Linked DNA regions of Homo sapiens: regions 1, 2, 3, 4, 5 and 6 are each linked to region 7. Evidence: promoter capture Hi-C in 16 types of primary human blood cells and fetal thymus (Javierre and others, 2016). All regions are on one chromosome and are shown on one strand. Each heading gives the region's core, a stretch centred on a gene start or on the middle of the fragment in contact. The rest is flanking DNA. Distances are from core to core; before and after follow the strand shown. Region 1 has its middle 120 kb from the start of KCNQ5. Region 2 has its middle 77 kb from the start of KCNQ5. Region 3 has its middle 140 kb from the start of KCNQ5. Region 4 has its middle 160 kb from the start of KCNQ5. Region 5 has its middle 180 kb from the start of KCNQ5. Region 6 has its middle 95 kb from the start of KCNQ5. Region 7 holds the start of KCNQ5-AS1 (KCNQ5 antisense RNA 1).

Region 1 (2,700 bases), core at 56-2,555, 640 kb after region 7:
GAAAAATTGCAGAGGAGCAAAACTTCTGTCCAGGGCCCCATCTATGAAGCTATAATTCAGGGAAGAAATAACTGTGGTCTGAACTGTGGTCCCACTAAGGCAGTGGGAAAGGGAGAGAAATATATATTTATATTTAATATATATATGGATTTGATAAATAATAAGGAAGTTTAAAAAGATCTTGTTTGCTGCTTTGCCTCTAGATTGATGGTGATGCACTTCACTGAGGGAGGAATAAGCGAGAGCACCAAGCCTGGTGGAAGGAACTTGAGAGAGGATGGGATTTGGTGATGAGTTTGGTTTTGTACTTGCTCATTTTGATATACCCAAGGGATACAAGTATTTATGTGGTTTTTAGGCAGTGGGCCATTCAGGTCTGTGCTTGGGAGTGATATCTGGATCCAACAGAGATTTGAGACCATCAGGACATGGGTGATGATCAAGACTTTGAAAAGGTGATTCAGGAAGATTGTGTAATGGAGGATGAGATGGGACATGAGAGCAGAACCCAGAGGAACATCAATATTTTAGGGACGATCAGAGGGAAAAGCATTTATGAATACTACTAAGAAGCGATTCCTAAAGAGGTAAAAGGAAGATAACAAAAACTTGTCACAGAGTCAAGTGAAATAAGAGTTTCCAGGAGACAAAGGCTAAGAATATCTAAGGAAACAGCAAGAAAGAACTAATAAGTGTCCTCACAGTGAAATACCAAAAAAAGAGATGAGTGATAGTAATGGTTAAAGCAGTTTTATCTAAGTGTAAGGGAGTGTTTATCATATAGGGAAAGTTTCTGAAAAGAGAGTTGTCCAAGAAGGAAATACAGGAATGTTCTCCCTATGACTAGGTATATTCAAGTACTGCTACTTGATAAGGTTTTTACATAATAAAAATTCAAACCTGAGATTTTTTTCTTAATTAAAAAATATAATAGAAATTTATAATATGAAGTTTATAATTATTACTGTGACTTCACCCTAAAGTAAACAGACATAAAAGTTAAGGAAATATTGTGAAAGAGCTGTATTCTAAATGAAACAGGGATATTCCTGATTGCTAATGTAATAAAATATTTATATAAATACATTTATGAAACAATTTAAAGCGTGGAGAAAAGTTGCAAAAAGGGAATGAAGAACTTTTTCCTCTGAGTTTGAGTAAGAGGATTATGTGATACTGCATCAACCCAGAATACTTTAATGAGTATTCTTTTCTTTTCTTTCTTTTTTTTTTTTTTTTTTTCTTTGAGGTGCAGTCTTACTCTGTCGCCCAGGCTGGAGTGCAGCAGCACACACTATCTTGGCTCACTGCACCCTGTGCCTCCTGGGTTCAAGCGGTTCTCATGTCTCAGGCCTCCGGATTAATTGAGACTACAGGCATGCAGCATGCCTGGCTAATTTGTATGTTTAGTTGAGATAGGGTTTCACCATGTTAGCCAGGCTGGTCTCAAATTCCTGACCTCAAGTGATCTGCCACCCTCAACCTCCCAAAGTGCTGGGATTACAGGCGTGAGCCACCACGCCTGGCCTAATGAGTATTTCTTATAACTGAAGACTTTATCTTACATTACTGTAAACCATCAATATCAGTAAATTCATATAAATATATGACTCTCATGTAACTTCAGACTCCATTTACATTTTATCAATTATTCAAATAACAAAAGGATCCAGTTCAGAATCAAATGTTGCATTTAGTTGTCATGTCTCTTTATTCTCCTTCAATTTGGAACAGATCCTAAATCTTTCCTTGACTTCATGATCTCGACACTTTTGAAGATAAAAAGGTCAGCTATTTTGTAGAATGTCCCTCAATTTTAGTTTTTTTGTGTGTTTCCTCATAATTAAATTCCATATATGCATTTTATTTCTTACAGGAGTACCGTAAAAGTTATATTGCATTTTCCTCATTGCATTTATCACCCAGTACCTGATTTGAATTGTCCTATTACTGGTAATATTAATGTTGATTACTTGTTTAAAGTAGTGCCTGCCAGGATTCTCCACTGGAAAGCTATTACTTTTCCCTTTGGAATGAAAGAATAATGGGGATGTATTCTGAGATTATGTAAATGTCCCATCTCTCATCGAACTTTCAATTAATTAGCTTATATTAACATATAATATACTAACTTATATTAATTAGCAGCTAACATATTAACTTATAATTAATTAACATATTAATTAACAAACTTATACTTAGCCCATGAGTATGGGCTGATGGATTCTTATTTTATTTGATGTTGTAATTTATTGATGTTGTTGTTATAATTTATTTTGATGTTCAAGTTGTCCTGGATTTGGCCAGTGGGAGCTTCTTTAAGCTGCTTCCTATGCTGTTAGACATGTCCTCATTATTCTTTCAGCACTCTTTATGGCATAACAAAATGTTCCAGACTCATCTTGTACTTTCCCTGCCCAGCCTTGGATTCAGCTATTTCAACAAGAAGCCCTAATTTTTTTCAAGAGAGAATAGCATTTAGTAACCAAGATCTGGGTGCTAGGTATTTTAAACATAGACACACAAGCACACACTGTGATAGTTCGTTTTTGGTGTCAACTTGACTAGGACAGGAGGTACCCAGATATTTGGTCAGACATTATTCTGGGCATGTCCATGAGGCTGTTTCTGGATGACAGTAACATTTGTATCTACAGACTGAGTAACGCAGATTGTCCCCTGCCCCCACTGTGAGTGGGC
Region 2 (2,700 bases), core at 33-2,532, 600 kb after region 7:
CTGCCTGCAGTACATTGTGTTAGTGACAAATAAGCATGAAATTCTCTGTTTACCTGAGGTCGGTAAGATCCTAACCAGTTTTCTTGTCTCTCTAGGTGGGCTTAAGATTGAGTCCACTGGTCAATGTCTATTCTGCTTTCAAGTGGCTATGCTTTTAAAATAATATCTGTGAAACTGCAAAATACTATTATTTAATACATATACATTCTCTTCACTTTAGATTAAGACTATCCTATAAATTTGGAATACATCTTCTCTGATACTGCGTAAGTTTAGAGCCATGCCATTGCCTAATATCAAGTTATAATTTTCCGTACAAAATTGATGGAAAGTTTAATAATACAGTGATATGCAAATTATATTAAAAATCTCACACCCATACACAAAGGTTGAGTTGTGGAAAAAGCCAATTGGACAGTAGATTTGCCAATATTTCCCTTAAGGCTTTCTCTTTTATATTAAGAAATTTTATTGATCAAATAAGTGTTCTTTAATAATTTATTCTTCCCTTTCTATGTATTTAAAATGCAATGTAAACATAATTTGTACACATTCTTGCATGGATTAGGGGCTCTGTTCTTTATTTTCTCTTAAAATTCAGTATCAACACCTTAGTTCCAAAGGCTAAAAACATAAAGGGCCAAATGTAAATATTTTCAGCTTTGTTAGAACTACAGGCATACTTTGGAGATGTTGTGGATTTGATTCCAGACCACCTTAACAAAGCAAATATCTCTATAAAGTAAGTCATACAAATGTTTGGGTTTCCTAGCACATATACAATTATGTTTACACTATACTGTAGTGTATTTGGTATGCAATAGCATTATGTTAAAAATGTACATATTATAATTTAAAAATACTTTATTGCTAAAAAATGTTAATGATTGCTTGAGCCTTCAACGAGTCATAATCTTTTTGCTGGTGGAGGGTTTTGCCTCAATGATGATGGCTACTGACTGATCAAGGGTGGCTGCTGAAGGTTGGGGTGGCTATGGCAATTTCTTAAAATAAGACAATGAAGCTTGCCTCGTCAATTGACTCTTTCTTTTACGAAAATATTATCTGTAGTGTGTGATGCTATTTGATAGCATTTTGCCCATAGTAGAACTTCTTTCAAAATTGAAGTCAGTCCTCTCAAACCCTGCCACTGCTTTATCAACTAAGTTTACATACTTTTCTAAATCTTGTGTTGCCATTTAACAATGCTGACAGTATCTTTACCAGTAGTAGATTCCATCTCAAGAAACTACTTTCTTTGCTCATCCATGAGAAGCAACTCCTCATCTGTTCAAGTTTTATCAGGGGATTGCAGCAATTCAGTCACATCTTTAGGCTCCATTTCTAATTCTAATTCTTTTGCTATTTCCACCAGATCCGTAGTTACTTTCTCTAGTGAAGTCTTCAACTCCTCAAAGTTATCCATGAGGGTTAGGTTAACTTCTTCCAAACTCCTATTATTGATGGTTTTTTGACCTCCTCTCATGAATTACTAATATTCTAAAGCATTTATCATGATGAATTCTTTCCAGAAGCTTTGAAATTTATTTTGCCCAGATCCATGAGAGGAATAACTACCTATGGTAACTATAGCCTTACAAAATATATTTCTGAAGTAATAAGACTTAAATGTAGAAATTGCTACTCGATCCATGGGCTGCAGAATGAATATTGTGTTATAAGCCATTAAAATAACATTTATCTCCTTGTATATCTTTATCAGAGCTCTTGAGTAACCAGGCGCATTGTCAATGACCAGTAATATGTTGAAAGAAATCTTTTCTTCTGAGAAGTAGATCTCAACAATGGGTTTAAAATATACAGGAAACCATGCTGTAGACAGAAGTGGCATCATCCAGGCTATGTTCAATTTATAGAGCGCCAGAAGAATAGATTTAACATAATTTTAAAAAGTCTTAAAATTTTCAGAATGGTAAATGAACATTGGCTGCGATTTAGAGTCACTAACTGCATGAGCCCCTAACAAGAGAATCAGCCTTTCCCTTGAAGCTTTGAAACAAGGCATTGACTTTCCTCTCCAGTTATGGAAATCCTATGTGGCACTTTCTTCCAACAAAAGACTATTTTTTCTACCTTGAAAATCTATTGTTTAGTGTAGCCACTTTCATTAATTATCTTAGCTGGATCTTCTGGATAACTTGCTGCAGCTTCTACATGAGCACTTACTGTTTCACTTTGCAATTTTAGGTTGTGGAGATGGCTTCTTCAACTTCATGAACCAGTCTCTGCCAGCTTCCAACTTTTCTTCTCTAGTTTTTCTCATCTCTCTTGGCCTTCATAGAATAGAAGAGAGTTAGGGCCTTGTTACACCATCAAGAAAATAGAAGGCTTGGACAACATTAAATACCAACCAGACAGATACAGAACACTACACTCAAAAACAGCAGAATACACATTTTTCTGAAGTGCACATGGAACATTCTGTAAGATTCATTATAAGTTTGGCTATGACTTTTGTTAAATTTAAAAGAATGAAAGTCATGCAAAGTATATTCTCTGACTACCATAGAATAAAATTAGAAATCATTAACAGAAGAAAATTTTAGAAGTGAACAAAGATGTAGAAATCAAACCTCACATTCCTAAATAACCAATGGGTCACATAAGAAATCAGAAGGGAAATTGGAAAATAGTTTGAGATGAATGAAAATGAAAACACATCATACCAAAACTTAAGAG
Region 3 (2,700 bases), core at 55-2,554, 660 kb after region 7:
TGTCTTTTATATTGCTAAGAATATATTCCTCAGAATGTCAATTACTGTAAAAAATTGAGATGTTTTTCCTTCTGCACCGTGACTCCCATGCCATTTCATCAAAAGCATGAGTAGGGAGTTATTCTTGGAGTTCATAATGGCTGAATTGGAACAGATAGAAATGCTGGGGTGAAATGGGGAGAAGTAAGGTTGAGGCATGGGGAGAAGGATAGGTGAGGCAAAGTCAATACAGATTCTTTGGTGTTCCTGATTTGTAAGCTTGTATTCATTGATACAGAGTTCACAAGGTGCTGGTCATCTTCTAGGGGCTGAAATAACATAAATATCTAGTTATTAACAGAAAAAATAAGAACTTCTCATCTAATTATTTTTCTAGGAACAGAGTGACCTCCTGTTTCTACCTTCTGCTTTCTTTATGTATCTATCCCTATGCTGATTTTCCTATAGTTCTTATGAACTAACCATTTCTCCTTAATTCAGTCGTACAACACAGCCTAATGCTCTGTTCTTCCAGTGGGCTTTACTGATATCTTGATACCAAGTCATTTGGTACAAAGTGAGCACAGCATTCTTTATTATGCTTAATTTATAGTCAGGAATCCAGGTTTCACAATGCAATAGGATTATGCCTTCTTTCATGCTCTATTTTTAATAGATAAGTTACAATTTTGAAAATCTATTGATAAACCAATCTGGCTTACTAGAATTGACAAGTGCCTATGTTAACTAAGATCCAGCAATCCCTCTCCTACGTATAAATGCTAGAGAAATTATTGCATGTATGTAACCAGGAAGAGGCAAATGAACGTTCATAATTTGTAACACACACACCAAAAAAACCAGAAATAATCTGCAAGTGCATTAACATTAGAATGGATAAATAAATTATGGTATATTGATACCATGGCATACTATTCATCAGTGACACAATACAAACAGTTACACACTCTACATGGATAAATCTTAAAGGAATAGCAGAGAATAAAAACAGGAAATCTGGCTCACGCCTGTAATCCCAGCACTTTGGGAGGCCGAGGCGGGCGGATCACGAGGTCAGGAGTTCGAGACCATCCTGGCTAACACGGTGAAACTCCGTCTCTACTAAAAATACAAAAAATTAGCCAGGCGTGATGGCGGGCGCCTGTAGTCCCAGCTACTCAGGAGGCTGAGGCAGGAGAATGGCGTGAACCCGGGAGTCGGAGCTTGCAGTGAGTGAGCCGAGATCGCAACCATGCACTCCAGCTACTCAGGAGGCTGAGGCAGGAGAATGGCGTGAACCCGGGAGTCGGAGCTTGCAGTGAGTGAGCCGAGATCGCAACCCTGCACTCCAGCCTGGGCGACAGAGCAAGACGCCGTCTAAACAAAACAAAACAAAACAAAACAAAACAAAAAAACAGGAAATCATAGAAGAATTCATATAGTATGATTATTCCATTTATATACAGCTTGAAGACAGGCAAAACTAAACACTACATTGTTGGTATATATATGAATGGCAAAACTATACAGAAAAGTGACAGAATAATTAATACAAAAGTCATATTAGAGGTCAACCCAGGAGGATGGTAGGGGGATGTGATCTGAGAAAGGCACACCAGGGAATTCAAAGATGCTGCTAATATTCTACACCTTAAGATGAATGATGTGTACACATTGTTCATATACGTACAATACTCCTGTGCATATAATTCATAATTTTCAAAAAGAAATTGTAAGAGGCCACACAATAGTACAGTTTGTGATACCTCCACCAACCAATAACTTTGAAAATAGATAGGGACTCTTCTACTTCCTATCCAAATTTTTATACATGGGGAAGGATTTTGTGGGTTTAACATAGGTTCTGCTGTTTTGAGTCTGCTTTTTAGACATTTTAAAAGTTCCCTTTCCCAGAAACCATTATACTGTCTCATACTAATTCCTAAATGTGCACAGGGGGTCAACTTGTACGGAGTGAGGCTGGAACCCATCAACGTTTATCTCACAAGCTGTGTGAAACCAATGATACTTCCCAAATCAAAACTCAACATGAGGCTCAAGTTCAGAGATTTCTAGCCATGTCTTTCTTTTTTTAATGAAAAATAAAGTCAGGGTGGAAGAAGTCTGAGAGTTTGATTCTTGCACGTTTGAGAATTACCTCAGGCCATGAAAACTCATAGTATATTTTAAAAAGAAAGAAATTTGTAAAGTGCTCTAGTTCCACCTCCTAATTTTACAGAGGAGAAAATTGAGGCTAAGAGAAATTAAATCAGCTATAAAAGTAACTTCAGCGAGTAGTGGAAGTCCAGCATCAAACTCAGCTCTCCTTTTAATCTAGTGCCTGGCATTGTAGTGGAGTGGTTAAGCTTGAGTGGTTAAGCTTGAGTGGTTGAGTCAGAGAGACCTGAGTTCAGATTCTAGCTTTTCCGCTTACTAATTATGCACCTTGGGCAAATTAAGTTACTTAACCTCCAAGTCTTAAAATGAAGATAATAATAATTCTTATTACATAAGGATTATATAAGAATTCAATTAGATCATATATAATATGATAATTTATACAATGCTTGGCTCTCAGTAAGTACTGGATAAATGGTATCTGCTATTACTATGAGCAAAAAAATTATGAAAACAAAAATCAATTTGTAATCAATTCTGAAACTGGTATTTGTTCTTAAATGTTCTGTAAAGTGTGTAAAAAAAACTGTTCACCTTTCCCAA
Region 4 (2,700 bases), core at 62-2,561, 680 kb after region 7:
ACGTAGTAGGTGCTTTAGAAATATTTATTGAAAAATTAAGCAAGTAAGGCAAAACATGTGAAAAGGGGACTTAAAACTGTGTTAGGGAGTAGTCCAGCCTGGCTAGAGAAGTGAAGGCAAGGTTTAATGTCAAGGAAAAACCAGATAAAGGAGGCCTGGAAGGAAGGTGATGCGTTCATTTTCTATGGTAGAAAAATGGAAATCAATAAAACTGCCTGGTACTCAAGAGAGATTACTCTGACAGCAGAATATGATATGGATCAGAAAGAGAAACTAAGTGAGGTAGCATCAATTTCAGTTCTTTTCTGCCTTGGCAGGCTTGTTGCAAATGTTTGCACTTTGTGCTTAGCTGAGGAAAACAACCTCAAAGCAAGATGTGTGTTGTGGAGGGGAGAGTGAGGCTGCTGCAAGAATGTTAGGATGCACAGCTGGAACTGGCTTTGTGGTTACTCAATGTGGCTGGGGAATGCTGACGTGTAGGCAATTCATTTTGAACTAAGACTTCTAGAAAAATCTCATGAGAAGGCATATGAAATATAGCCTTAGAACTCAAAGGATGAACTACACTGGAGCTACTGCAGCACAGTTACAAGGAGTATACCCTCTTTACATCATGATGAGTACCAAGAACCAGGCTTTCTTGTCAGAAAAGAAAGGCAACCATATACCTATATTTACCTTAGACATGAGGAACACACCTTACTTAAAAAAATAAACAAGAAAAACCTTTGGTAGGATAATTCCTACATTAAATTTTTTGCATCTTGGTTGATTCATTAAATGTCTGTTATGGGGGATAAGAATCTATATATGTCATTTCACTGGAAATGCAGCAATGTATATTTGTAAGGATTTGAGATAGACTGCTTGGGTTTGAATCTACCACTTACTAGTCCCATGACTTTAGGCAAGCTATTTAACCTCTCTGTTCCTCCATTTCCTTATCTGAAAATGAGGTAATTCTAGAAGCTTCCATATAGGGTTATTAGGAGGATTAAATGTTATTAATTACATATGAAGTGCTTAGATTAGCATATAACTCCTAGGTGGTGATAAACAAATATCGGCTATTATTATTATATTAACTTTGTATTTTCTATGTCTTTTTCCTAAGGAAGAAACTATTACTGTCAATTTTTCTATGGTAGAAAACATAAATGGCTGATACTAAGTAACACAGTGAATTATTTGATGGCATTCAGAAAGTTCTCCCTTCTCAAACTCTTCTGGTAAAGAGAGCCATATTTTTACTTTTCTGGAACAATGCTTAAAAAATACACTTACTGAGTTGAACAAAACAGAATCATAAATATATTAGTTACATTTTGCTTTTCCTGTCTGAGAAAGCCTGAAAAATACATTTTGCTTTCCATCTGAAAGGACATCTAAAAGGAACCAGACCATACAATGACACCGAGATGTTTGTACCTGAAGTAAAATGAATCATAGCAGAAAAGGATAATGTCTGACAGGAGGCTTTAGATATTGTTTTGATTATCCAGTTATTTTCCATGTAAAAGCCACTTGTGTCTTGGAGTGGACCCTGTCATCTGAAAAGCACTTCATCTTGTTGTATTTTCAAAGATTTAAATGGAAGCTGTTGCTTTTGGGAAGCAGCCATAAGGAGAGACTTGGCTATGTTTAAAAGCTTCAATCCATTTGTCTCCTATTATCAGTGGGTCCCTCCCTTGTGTTACAGGTTTGGCTTCCTCCAGAAGCTAATACTAATCTGATAATCATGGAAATATAAAGTCTTCAAGCATTGTATGCACACAGTGTGCCAAGCATATTGTACCATCACATACAAGAATACTGACATGTAACTCTCAACAGCAACCTTGCAATGTTGGTATGATTTTTCCAAACTCACAGAAGAAGAAACAGAGCTACAGGGGTTAAGTCCCTCGTTCAAAGTCACACAGCTGTAAAGTGAAGGAATAAGAATATTATTATCTCAATTATTATCACCAGCTTCACTGGATATTGTTCAAGCCCTTTCATTTAAACTAATACAAAATTTAATATAAAACCGAACCACAGATTTCAGGGAGTCCAACCTAAACTTGGGCAACATAAAACAAGATTCAAAAGACTTGTTATATCACTACCTTTTGTGCTGCCTGGGTATCGATGAGTGTTGTGTGAATTGGTCTTAGGCATTTTTAGTTATATAGTAAATTCACTGAAAATTCAGTCTTGAGGGCGGGAGTCCCATTTTCTTTTCGTTAACGCAGCACTCCCATTGTTTTGATGCCACTGTATAATAGGTACGTTATTAATACAAAATGAAATAATCTTTCCTGTGAAAGATTCTTAGGCTGTAAGGTGAAAAGTGAAACTGGCTCTATTTGCAATAGTGTTAAACTATAAATGAATTCCAAAGTTAAAAAAAAGATGATCTTATATATTACCCTTTGATGCTTTTTATTGACATTTGAAATTCTAAAAATATGCTGTCTCTTGGTTCATGGGGAAAAAAAATGGACATAACCATATAGCTGTGACCCTCTCAAGTGAGAGGCTCAGTTGACCAAGTTGAAAAAATTATGTGCAGACACAATTGACTCCTTCTTTTCCACGTCGCCAACAACTGCTTTAAAGACTCTAGAAGTACACATAGCATAGGAAGAATGAGGGAGAGTTCCAATTATTAAGGTAACTTAGTTTTTTTGCTTTGATAGTATTATATGGCATCAGGAT
Region 5 (2,700 bases), core at 97-2,596, 700 kb after region 7:
GTGGTGATTTTGCCTGGTGATTTTAACCAGGAGACATTTGACAATGTCTGGTGATACTTTTGGTCCTCACAACAGCAAGATGCTATTGGCATCTAGTGGAAGAGGCCAGGGATGCTGCTGAACATCTTAAAATGCACAAGACATCTCCCTACAAAAAAATTATTGGAATTATTGGGTACAGTGGTAGAAGAGACTCCTCTGTACCTTCTGCTCGAATTTTATACTTCTCTAAAAAGTGAAATCTATTAAAAATTATCTAGCCCCAAATGTCAATAGTACCAAGGTTGAGAAACCCTGTCCTGAAGGAAGCCATGAGAGTTCTTTACTAATTCTGAACCTACTTTCAATTTTTATGACAATGCTAGCTATTGTAAAGGAGAACAATTTTGTATACATATGCTTCCAAAGTGAGTTCAAATGTACATTTCTTTTTTTTCAAATCAGAAGATGATGCTATACTTTAGTAACATATGCTGCACAACATCACCCTCAAGATGAAGCCATTTAGCTATACCACAAATATGAGCCATGCTGAGGTGAGAATGAAATTCACTTTTAAATGAACATACTTATGCCAACAGAGGTAAACTAAATTAGAAGTATGCGATGAGAAATTTGGTCTCAGAATTTGGCTATGAGGGATGACCTACTTTGTGGGGGGTGGGGGGGCTCATTTTTGATTTCCAGAATCTGTGTGTTTCCCTCATTGCATGAGTCTTCCATACCCACACATCTTGTGGGCCATATGGTGCTCTTTTGGAATGACTTTCATTTGATTTTCTCCTTTTCAGAGATTTTTTTTTTTTAAATTTTCACTCTGTCAGAAAGCACAGAGGTCCTTGAGGAAGGGTCTTTTGTCAAAATGCTCTTCTTAGTAGTAGTGACCTTTGATGATTCCACTAGGATTCTTAGCAGAATAATATATCTTCTGAAAAAAAAAGCAAAAAACAAACAGACAAAAAAACCAGAAGTATAGCCTACTGGTGAAGCTTAGAGAAGCATTTTATATAACTTGTTTGGAGGAAGGAAGGAACCCACTCTTCATTTGGGGTTAGGACTTCATTAGTTTCCTCATGGGGAAAATTCACAGATTTCTTTTAGGCAGGGGTTGTGTGATGGGGAAAATGGGCAAGCACAGAGGTGAGTTAGGGGTTAAGGATGGGAGAATACAAACGTCACTTACTGGGGAGTTACTCACTGCAAACCTCAGGGCCATGGAAGAAAGGCACTTGACAAAATCACGTGTGACCTGAGATGTTCAGCAGTGAGGAAGATGAGAGAAAATGGCTCACTACTTCTTACAAGGACCAACCCAAATACGGGGGGACTTCAAAAAATACATGGAAAAATGGAATTAAAAGACAAAAATTGCCAACTTTATTTTTCAACATAAGCCCCATCAAGTTCGGGACACTTCTGAAAGCTATGATACCAGTCATTTAGTCCATCCTTAAAGAAATGAGAGTTGGGAATGTAGCCATGTCAATGCCATCTTTTTTTACATTAGTAACTGAAGAAAAATGGTGCCCTTTAAAGATTAGTTAAATATTAGGAAACAAAAGAAGTTAGCAGAATTTAAATCAAGACTGTAAGGTGAAAGCCTAACGATTTTCCATCAAAACTTTCACAAAATTGCCCTTGTTTGATGAAAGGAATGAGCAAGAGCATTGTCATGGAGGAGGCAGACTCTCTGGTGAAGCTTTCCCAGGTGTTTTTCTTCTAAAACTTTGGCTAACTTCCTTCAAACACACTCATAATAAGCAGATGTTATTGTTTTTGCGTCCCACCCCCTGCTCCTGGAAAGTCAACACACAAAATGCCTTGAGCATCCCCAAAACTGCCGTGATCTTTGTTCTTGATTAATCCACTTTTGCTTTGACTGGACCTCTTCCACCTCTTGGTAGCCATTGCTTTGATTGTGCTTGTCTTTGGGATCATACTAGTAAAGCCTTGTCTATCTCCTGTTACAATTCTTCAAAGAAATGCTTCAGGATCTTGATCCTACTTGTTTAAAATTTCAATTGAAAACTCTGATCTTGTCTGTAGCTCAAGTGGGCACAACATTTTTGGCACTTACCAAGTGGAAAGTTTGCTCTGCTTTAATTTTTAGTTCACAGCTGTGTAAGCTGAATAAGTTAAGATGCCTATGGTGTTGGGCTACTGTTTCTGCTGTTAATTGCTGGTCCTTTTCAATTGGGACACAAACAAGATGAGTGTTTCCTTGCAAGTATGTGTGGATGGTATGGCACTGTGAGCTTCATCTTCAACAATATCTCATTCCCTCTTGAAATGAGTTATTCACTTGTAAACTGCTGATTTATTTGGGACATTTTCCCCATAAACTTTCATAAAGCATTATTTATTTCATCATTCTTCCACGCAAGTTTTACCATAAATTGATGTTCATTCTTGCTTTAATTTTAGCAGAGTTCATGTTGCTCTGATTGGGGCTCTCTTGAAACTCATATCTTATCCTTCTTAGTGGCTCAAATTAGATGCTGTTGAGGCATGTTATAAAAAGTTAGTACAAGTATATTTTGGTGCAAAAAATTTAAAATCCATGCATTTTTTCAGAATATATATTTGTTTTCTGTAAACTTTTAAACTATCTATTAGTATTGAAAATGCCAACAGGACAGCAGGAGAGACTCACGATTAATTAAATACAATTAAGGAGTGGAACTTACTGTACCAAAACAG
Region 6 (2,700 bases), core at 21-2,520, 620 kb after region 7:
TTTTCAAAGTCCCTTCTTTTTTTTTTTTTTTTTTTTTTGAGGCAGAATCTCACTCTGTGACCCAGGCTGGAATGCAGTCGTGCAGTCTTGGCTAACTGCAACCTCCACCTCCCGGATTCAAGTGATCCTCCCCACCTCAGCCTCTCAAGTATCAGGGATTATAGGCATGGGCCATGATGCCCAGCTAATTTTTGTATTTTTAGTAGGGATAGGGTTTCACCATGTTGGCCAGGTTGGTTTGGAACTCCTGACCTCAAGTGATTTGCCCGCCTTGGCCTCCCAAAGTGTTGGGATTACAGGCATGAGCCACCATGCCTGGCCTCAAAGTCCCTTCTAAATCCTGATTACACTGTGATAGTATACATTTTTAATAATAATTTTTCTTTAACAAACTACTTGATGCTAACCCTCAAAAACAAGACCTTTCATTGTTAAACTTGCTAGGACTGCCATAAAAGTTTTGGAGACTAATAAAGTTTTTCCTGAAATTTCTTGTGAGCAATCAGAAAATGTGCATATATGTTTACATATATATGAACTACTTTAACTTCAATTAAATTGGGTGAAAACATTCAAAATTTAGCAAATTGTTATTTGGAAACAGATGTTGTTATGACAGTTTTAAAAAGTTGATTACATTTCAATGTGAGGCTGGGATGCAGCTTCAGCTGCAGTGCCTGAGATCTTCTATAGTGAATGTTGACATTCAGGGCTGGTTGTTACAATGTCTTCGTTATATTGATGCTATCACTATAGTTTTTGTGGATAATTACTTTTTGAGTATTGCTTTTGAATGTTTTATGACATTTTGTTCTCAATAGGATGTTTAAGCGTATATGAAAACTAAACTTTGGGATAAAAGCTCTTCATTAACCAGGCAGAGAACAGAGCTGGTCATACATATATAATCTATTAAGTAGATAAAATTATGTATTTAATTCTAACTAGGCAAGGTAAACAGGGCTGATCACTCATACATAAAATAAAAATAAAGATAGTAATCAATTCTACTTTGGGCAAGTCACCTACACACAGGTCAGCTTTTCCAGCTTCACAGAGGTTATGGTTTCACAGCTGGCTTTGCATGTCAGTGGAGAAATATGGCGATTTGCTTAACATGATGTAAAATATTCAATATCTACTTCATTGGTTTAGGACATTGACAGCCTTTGCTAAAATGTGAATGTTATTTGGTGTGTTGATATATTAATTACAATGTTGGCTTAGTAAAATAGTTACCTTTTAAAAGGATGTTAAACATGAGCTGTATGTTCTTGGTTTGGATGTGTGTGGGATAAAGAAAGGTCTAGAGCATGAGATAGTGCCTGGTGTTGAAGGACTTGGGTTGAACACCATGGTAGAAAGATGATGGTTGAGATGAGGATACCCATTCACGTTCTTGCACATGGGGTAGATGTTAGCAGAGATACAATACAGAGTTGAAATGTCTTGAGACTACACTTTATCTCCTTTGCCTGGAATAAGTCAGTGCCTTTAAGTATAAACACATTGTATGAACGCTTTCTCCACTCAGGGTGCTGCTTCCATGTTATTTATAGTCAGTCCTCATAATGAATCAACATCATTCTCTCTAAATCTTGGACTATCAATTCTAACTTTACCCTTTCAGGCCACACAAAATTTGGTTTGGGGTTGAACACACCTAGCATTTCTTTTCTTTTACAGAGTACGGGGTAGCTGAGATGATATATGTGCAGGATATACTATGCAAAGGGCCTTGGGACAAACAAGAATCCTTAAATGTATCCATCCTACAACTCATAAATAGTAACTATCTTAATTGTATCCACCATTGTGTAGGTCAGTATGTCCTTGAATACATGGGGGAAATGGTGTTTCTGTAAAAAGTTGGTAAACTGCTGATAGATTTTTCTATATCTTCCCAAGTTACAGAAAATAGCAGGGAGGGATAGTTATTTATGAAAGTCAGGCTGGAATAGATGGGCCAGAGTGGCCCTGCCCAGAAGAGAATGGGAAATATCACTGGATTTATGGCAATCTGAGTGGATTTTTGTAGAGACATATCAAAAGACCTGTCTTTCATTCTGTTCTATTCAATAGTATAAATAAGTGGGCTTAGAAAAATATGTCAAAGACATGTCAGTCAAGTTCAGAGATTAAAAATTAAGGAACAATAATTAATATTATGGATAAAGAAACAGAAATTGAGAATGACAGTAAAGAGCATTCGATGCTGGGATAACTGTTACATAAAGACTTTTAAGAGATCTAAATGTAAAGTTATATGTTCTGGTTCAGAAGTTAAATTGTACAATTCCAGGGTACAGAATATTTGGCTTAGCTGATTGTGAGTTCAATGAATAAAAAGCAGATGTGTCTGCCAAGAAAGCTCCTGTGGTTTAGCCTGGGTTTATAGAAAGTGTCTAAGTGGTCTTGCTGGATTTTGTGTTGATTAGACATTACCAGGAAGCATCTGTTCAATGATAGCTGAGATTCCTAAAGGATGTCCAGAGGGAGATGTTTGGAATAGCTAGCTGTCTAGAAACCATATCACATGGTTGGAGAAATGGGATGTTTAACTTATAGAATGTAGATCTGAAGGGGGATACATGATGGGTGGTCTTTTAGTATGTGGGTTTTACACAGAAGATGGATTCAATTTCTTCTGTGTGACTTAGGAAAGCAAAGCTAGAACCAATGGGTCCAATGTTAAGGAGG
Region 7 (2,700 bases), core at 71-2,570:
CCACCATGTGAACCAGCCCAGCCTGCTGGAGGATGAGAGACCACATGAGCAAAGAGCAGTAATTCTAACTGAGACCACCTTAGTCCAGTCAGCACCAGCCAACACAGCAGCTGAACACAGAGCATGAGTCAGTTCACTTAAGACCAGAAGAACTGCCTAACAGAATTGTGGGCTAAACAAATGGTTGCTGTTTTAAGCCACTAAATCTGAGGGAGAGGGTTAGCTATGCAACAGATAACATGAAGAGATATAGGGTCATGACATTTTTCAATCAAAACACAAAATTATGGGAACAATAGTTTCAAAAGAGTTTTGGGAATGATTAGTCATCAATTCCAATAGAACGATGTGGTATAACAATTGCTACTGCATTAGATTAATGAAAGACGCAAATCTCAGGGTTTCATGTGCAAATGATTCTCTTGGTAGCTGGAGGTAGAGAGATTAATTTTTCCCAGGTAATGTTATTCTGAGGTTTCTATGCTTTTGGAGTTCAGAAATTGTTGTTATGCATTATACATGGCAAAAGAAGAAAAAGATGGCAAGGGAAGAAAAGCCGAACAAATTAGATGTTGAAAATAAAATACCTGTAAAAGCAATTTGGGACAATGTCAGGGAGTTTTATACTGCAGGTAGCAAAAAGCAAAGCCTGGGTAACTCATCTCTTTCCCATGTCAGTCATCCATTGCAGAAAAAGGATCCTGGCCTTTACTTAACCTTGTTTCCCCCCTTCTTTACCAAGTAGAGCACACCATGAAAGCGATTAAATATAATTTTAAAATTGTGTCATATTGGTTTCTGTTTATGCAGCAGACAACTAAGTGTGACTTTGAAGGAAATAATTTGAGATATATGAAGGAAAAATCACCATGCAGCTGAAAAGTGCTTCTCTTAAATATGGGCTAAATTCTGTGATTTGTGTAATGGTTAATTTTGTGCTTATTTTGTGCGAATTTTGGACGTCACCCACAGGTTATTTCTGAAAACTATGAAGTCTGAAGAATGAGGAAGGTGCCTTTTGTTCCCCTCAGTGCCAATCAATACTGTAACTGAGGTGGGCTGGGGTGGTAAAACTTACAGACAAACAGTAAGTTCTTTGGGGTGACAGTTGTCACGCCTCCTCCCTGCCTTCTAAATGCCCAGAAACATGCTAGCTCTGAGTAGCAGCCCTCAAATACCTTCTGATATGAATTGAAATCCAGTGGAGGGCTTATTCAAGTTCTAAGAATGAGCCGCTATGGAGCACACACATAAACCTCACAATGGTGGGTGGGACACACCTGATACACTTCTTAGGACAGAAAGGACTATGGCTGACAGTGAAAGTGGAAAAGAAACAGTGGGAGGAATGAGAGGCAAGAAGCAGCGGGTAGCACTTTTCTCGGTATCAAAGAGACGTGAAACTAGGGTAAGGACAGAAAACTCACTCCTGGCATTCCTCAGCCAATCCTTGCTTTCCTCTTCTATTTCTTAGTATAGAATTGCTAGTGAGGATACGAGTTAATGGCTAAGGAAGATACTTTGCATTGGTCCAGAAGAGCAGATTATAAAAACTCAGATTTGGAAGAAAATTTCTTAGAGGTTTTCTGGTTTGATCTCCTTAAGCTTCCAGAAATTCCTGACTGTTGATCATCCAACTTTGATTTGAATGCTTCCAATTATGGAATCCACTCAATTGCTGTGGAGTCTCTAAGTGCTAAGCTGCCATTATATTGAACTAAATATTGGTATCACACACCTTTTAGTTCTGCTTCTGCCCTTTGAAGCAACCAAGAACATATCTTCAACCTCTTGAAAAGCTGAAGAGGGGCCATACATTGTACAAGAAAGAGAGCTGCGTTAGAAGTTATGACACTTTGGTTTTGCAACTGACTAGTTCATGTCCTGCTCCCTCAATTTATTTATTTATTTATTTTCGAGATGGAGTCTTGCTCTTGTCGCCCAGGCTGGAGTGCAAGGGTGCAATCTCAGCTCACTGCAACCTCCTCTTCCTGGATTCAAGTGATTCTCCTGCCTCAGCCTCCTGAGTAGCTGGGATTACAGGTGCCCGCCACCACGCCTGGCTAATTTTTGTATTTTTAGTAGAGACAGGGTTTCACCATGTTGACCAGGCTGGTCTCGAACTCCTGACCTCAGGTGATCCATCCCCCTCAGCCTCCCAAAGTGCTGGGATTACAGGCATGAACCATCGCACCTGGCCTCCTCATTTTATTTAACTTGTTGCTGCAGTAATCACATACTCAATATTTTGTTAATATTCCTTTTGAGAGTCTGCACTAAGAGTGGAATATAATTGCGTAGCTATAGGTTGAGGCCAGGATTTTTTTTTTTTTTTGAGATATAATACAAAGGATACTGGACATAAAATGGTTAGACCAGAAGTTATAAACCCATGTCGTTAAAGGCAGGTAGGTAACGGAGAGGTCGAAAGGAATGGGGAATTGGTGGTTTGGGTTCCTGGAAAGACAATAGGGACTGGTTGAAATCTGCAATTTAAAAGACATAATCTATCTGAAGGCATTTGTGGTAGCCTGACTCTAACATGGTCCCCAGTGGCCCTCATCTCCTGGTATTACCCCCCTGTATAGTCCCTGCCTACACTGTACAGGGTTGGTCTTTGTGACCACTTACACATGAAAGAAGCGATGGCATAACACTTCTGAGCTTATGTCATAAAAGACTGCAGCTTCTCTCTGCGTA

The links. Contacts are between HindIII fragments. The CHiCAGO score rates a contact against its expected background, and 5 or more counts as called.
Region 1: a fragment that was not itself captured here is called in contact with the fragment with the promoter of KCNQ5-AS1 in region 7 in 11 of 17 cell types (naive CD8 T cells, fetal thymus, non-activated CD4 T cells and 8 more); the score reaches 11.5 in naive CD8 T cells.
Region 2: a fragment that was not itself captured here is called in contact with the fragment with the promoter of KCNQ5-AS1 in region 7 in 2 of 17 cell types (total B cells and total CD8 T cells); the score reaches 7.2 in total B cells.
Region 3: a fragment that was not itself captured here is called in contact with the fragment with the promoter of KCNQ5-AS1 in region 7 in 12 of 17 cell types (naive CD8 T cells, activated CD4 T cells, fetal thymus and 9 more); the score reaches 11.7 in naive CD8 T cells.
Region 4: a contact is called between a fragment that was not itself captured here and the fragment with the promoter of KCNQ5-AS1 in region 7, in 14 of 17 cell types (activated CD4 T cells, naive CD4 T cells, naive CD8 T cells and 11 more). The highest score is 12.5, in activated CD4 T cells.
Region 5: a fragment that was not itself captured here is called in contact with the fragment with the promoter of KCNQ5-AS1 in region 7 in 16 of 17 cell types (naive CD8 T cells, naive CD4 T cells, total B cells and 13 more); the score reaches 16.4 in naive CD8 T cells.
Region 6: a fragment that was not itself captured here is called in contact with the fragment with the promoter of KCNQ5-AS1 in region 7 in 14 of 17 cell types (fetal thymus, naive CD8 T cells, activated CD4 T cells and 11 more); the score reaches 11.3 in fetal thymus.

What each region holds. Positions count from the first base shown.
Region 1 is chr6:72,500,860-72,503,559 of GRCh38, reverse strand. No RefSeq gene overlaps it. Among named protein-coding and RNA genes, the nearest start is that of KCNQ5, 120 kb to the left of the region's middle. The HindIII fragment of the contact is 5,950 bases long and covers 1-2,700 here.
Region 2 is chr6:72,544,075-72,546,774 of GRCh38, reverse strand. No RefSeq gene overlaps it. Among named protein-coding and RNA genes, the nearest start is that of KCNQ5, 77 kb to the left of the region's middle. The HindIII fragment of the contact is 511 bases long and covers 1,027-1,537 here.
Region 3 is chr6:72,484,838-72,487,537 of GRCh38, reverse strand. No RefSeq gene overlaps it. Among named protein-coding and RNA genes, the nearest start is that of KCNQ5, 140 kb to the left of the region's middle. The HindIII fragment of the contact is 2,087 bases long and covers 261-2,347 here.
Region 4 is chr6:72,459,027-72,461,726 of GRCh38, reverse strand. No RefSeq gene overlaps it. Among named protein-coding and RNA genes, the nearest start is that of KCNQ5, 160 kb to the left of the region's middle. The HindIII fragment of the contact is 679 bases long and covers 972-1,650 here.
Region 5 is chr6:72,438,787-72,441,486 of GRCh38, reverse strand. No RefSeq gene overlaps it. Among named protein-coding and RNA genes, the nearest start is that of KCNQ5, 180 kb to the left of the region's middle. The HindIII fragment of the contact is 710 bases long and covers 992-1,701 here.
Region 6 is chr6:72,526,096-72,528,795 of GRCh38, reverse strand. No RefSeq gene overlaps it. Among named protein-coding and RNA genes, the nearest start is that of KCNQ5, 95 kb to the left of the region's middle. The HindIII fragment of the contact is 4,994 bases long and covers 1-2,700 here.
Region 7 is chr6:73,142,134-73,144,833 of GRCh38, reverse strand. KCNQ5-AS1 (KCNQ5 antisense RNA 1) reads left to right here and starts at 1,320. Exons shown (of 5, transcript NR_046621.1): 1 at 1,320-1,408. All of the region lies in intron 10 of KCNQ5 (potassium voltage-gated channel subfamily Q member 5), which reads right to left. The HindIII fragment of the contact is 1,820 bases long and covers 1-1,607 here.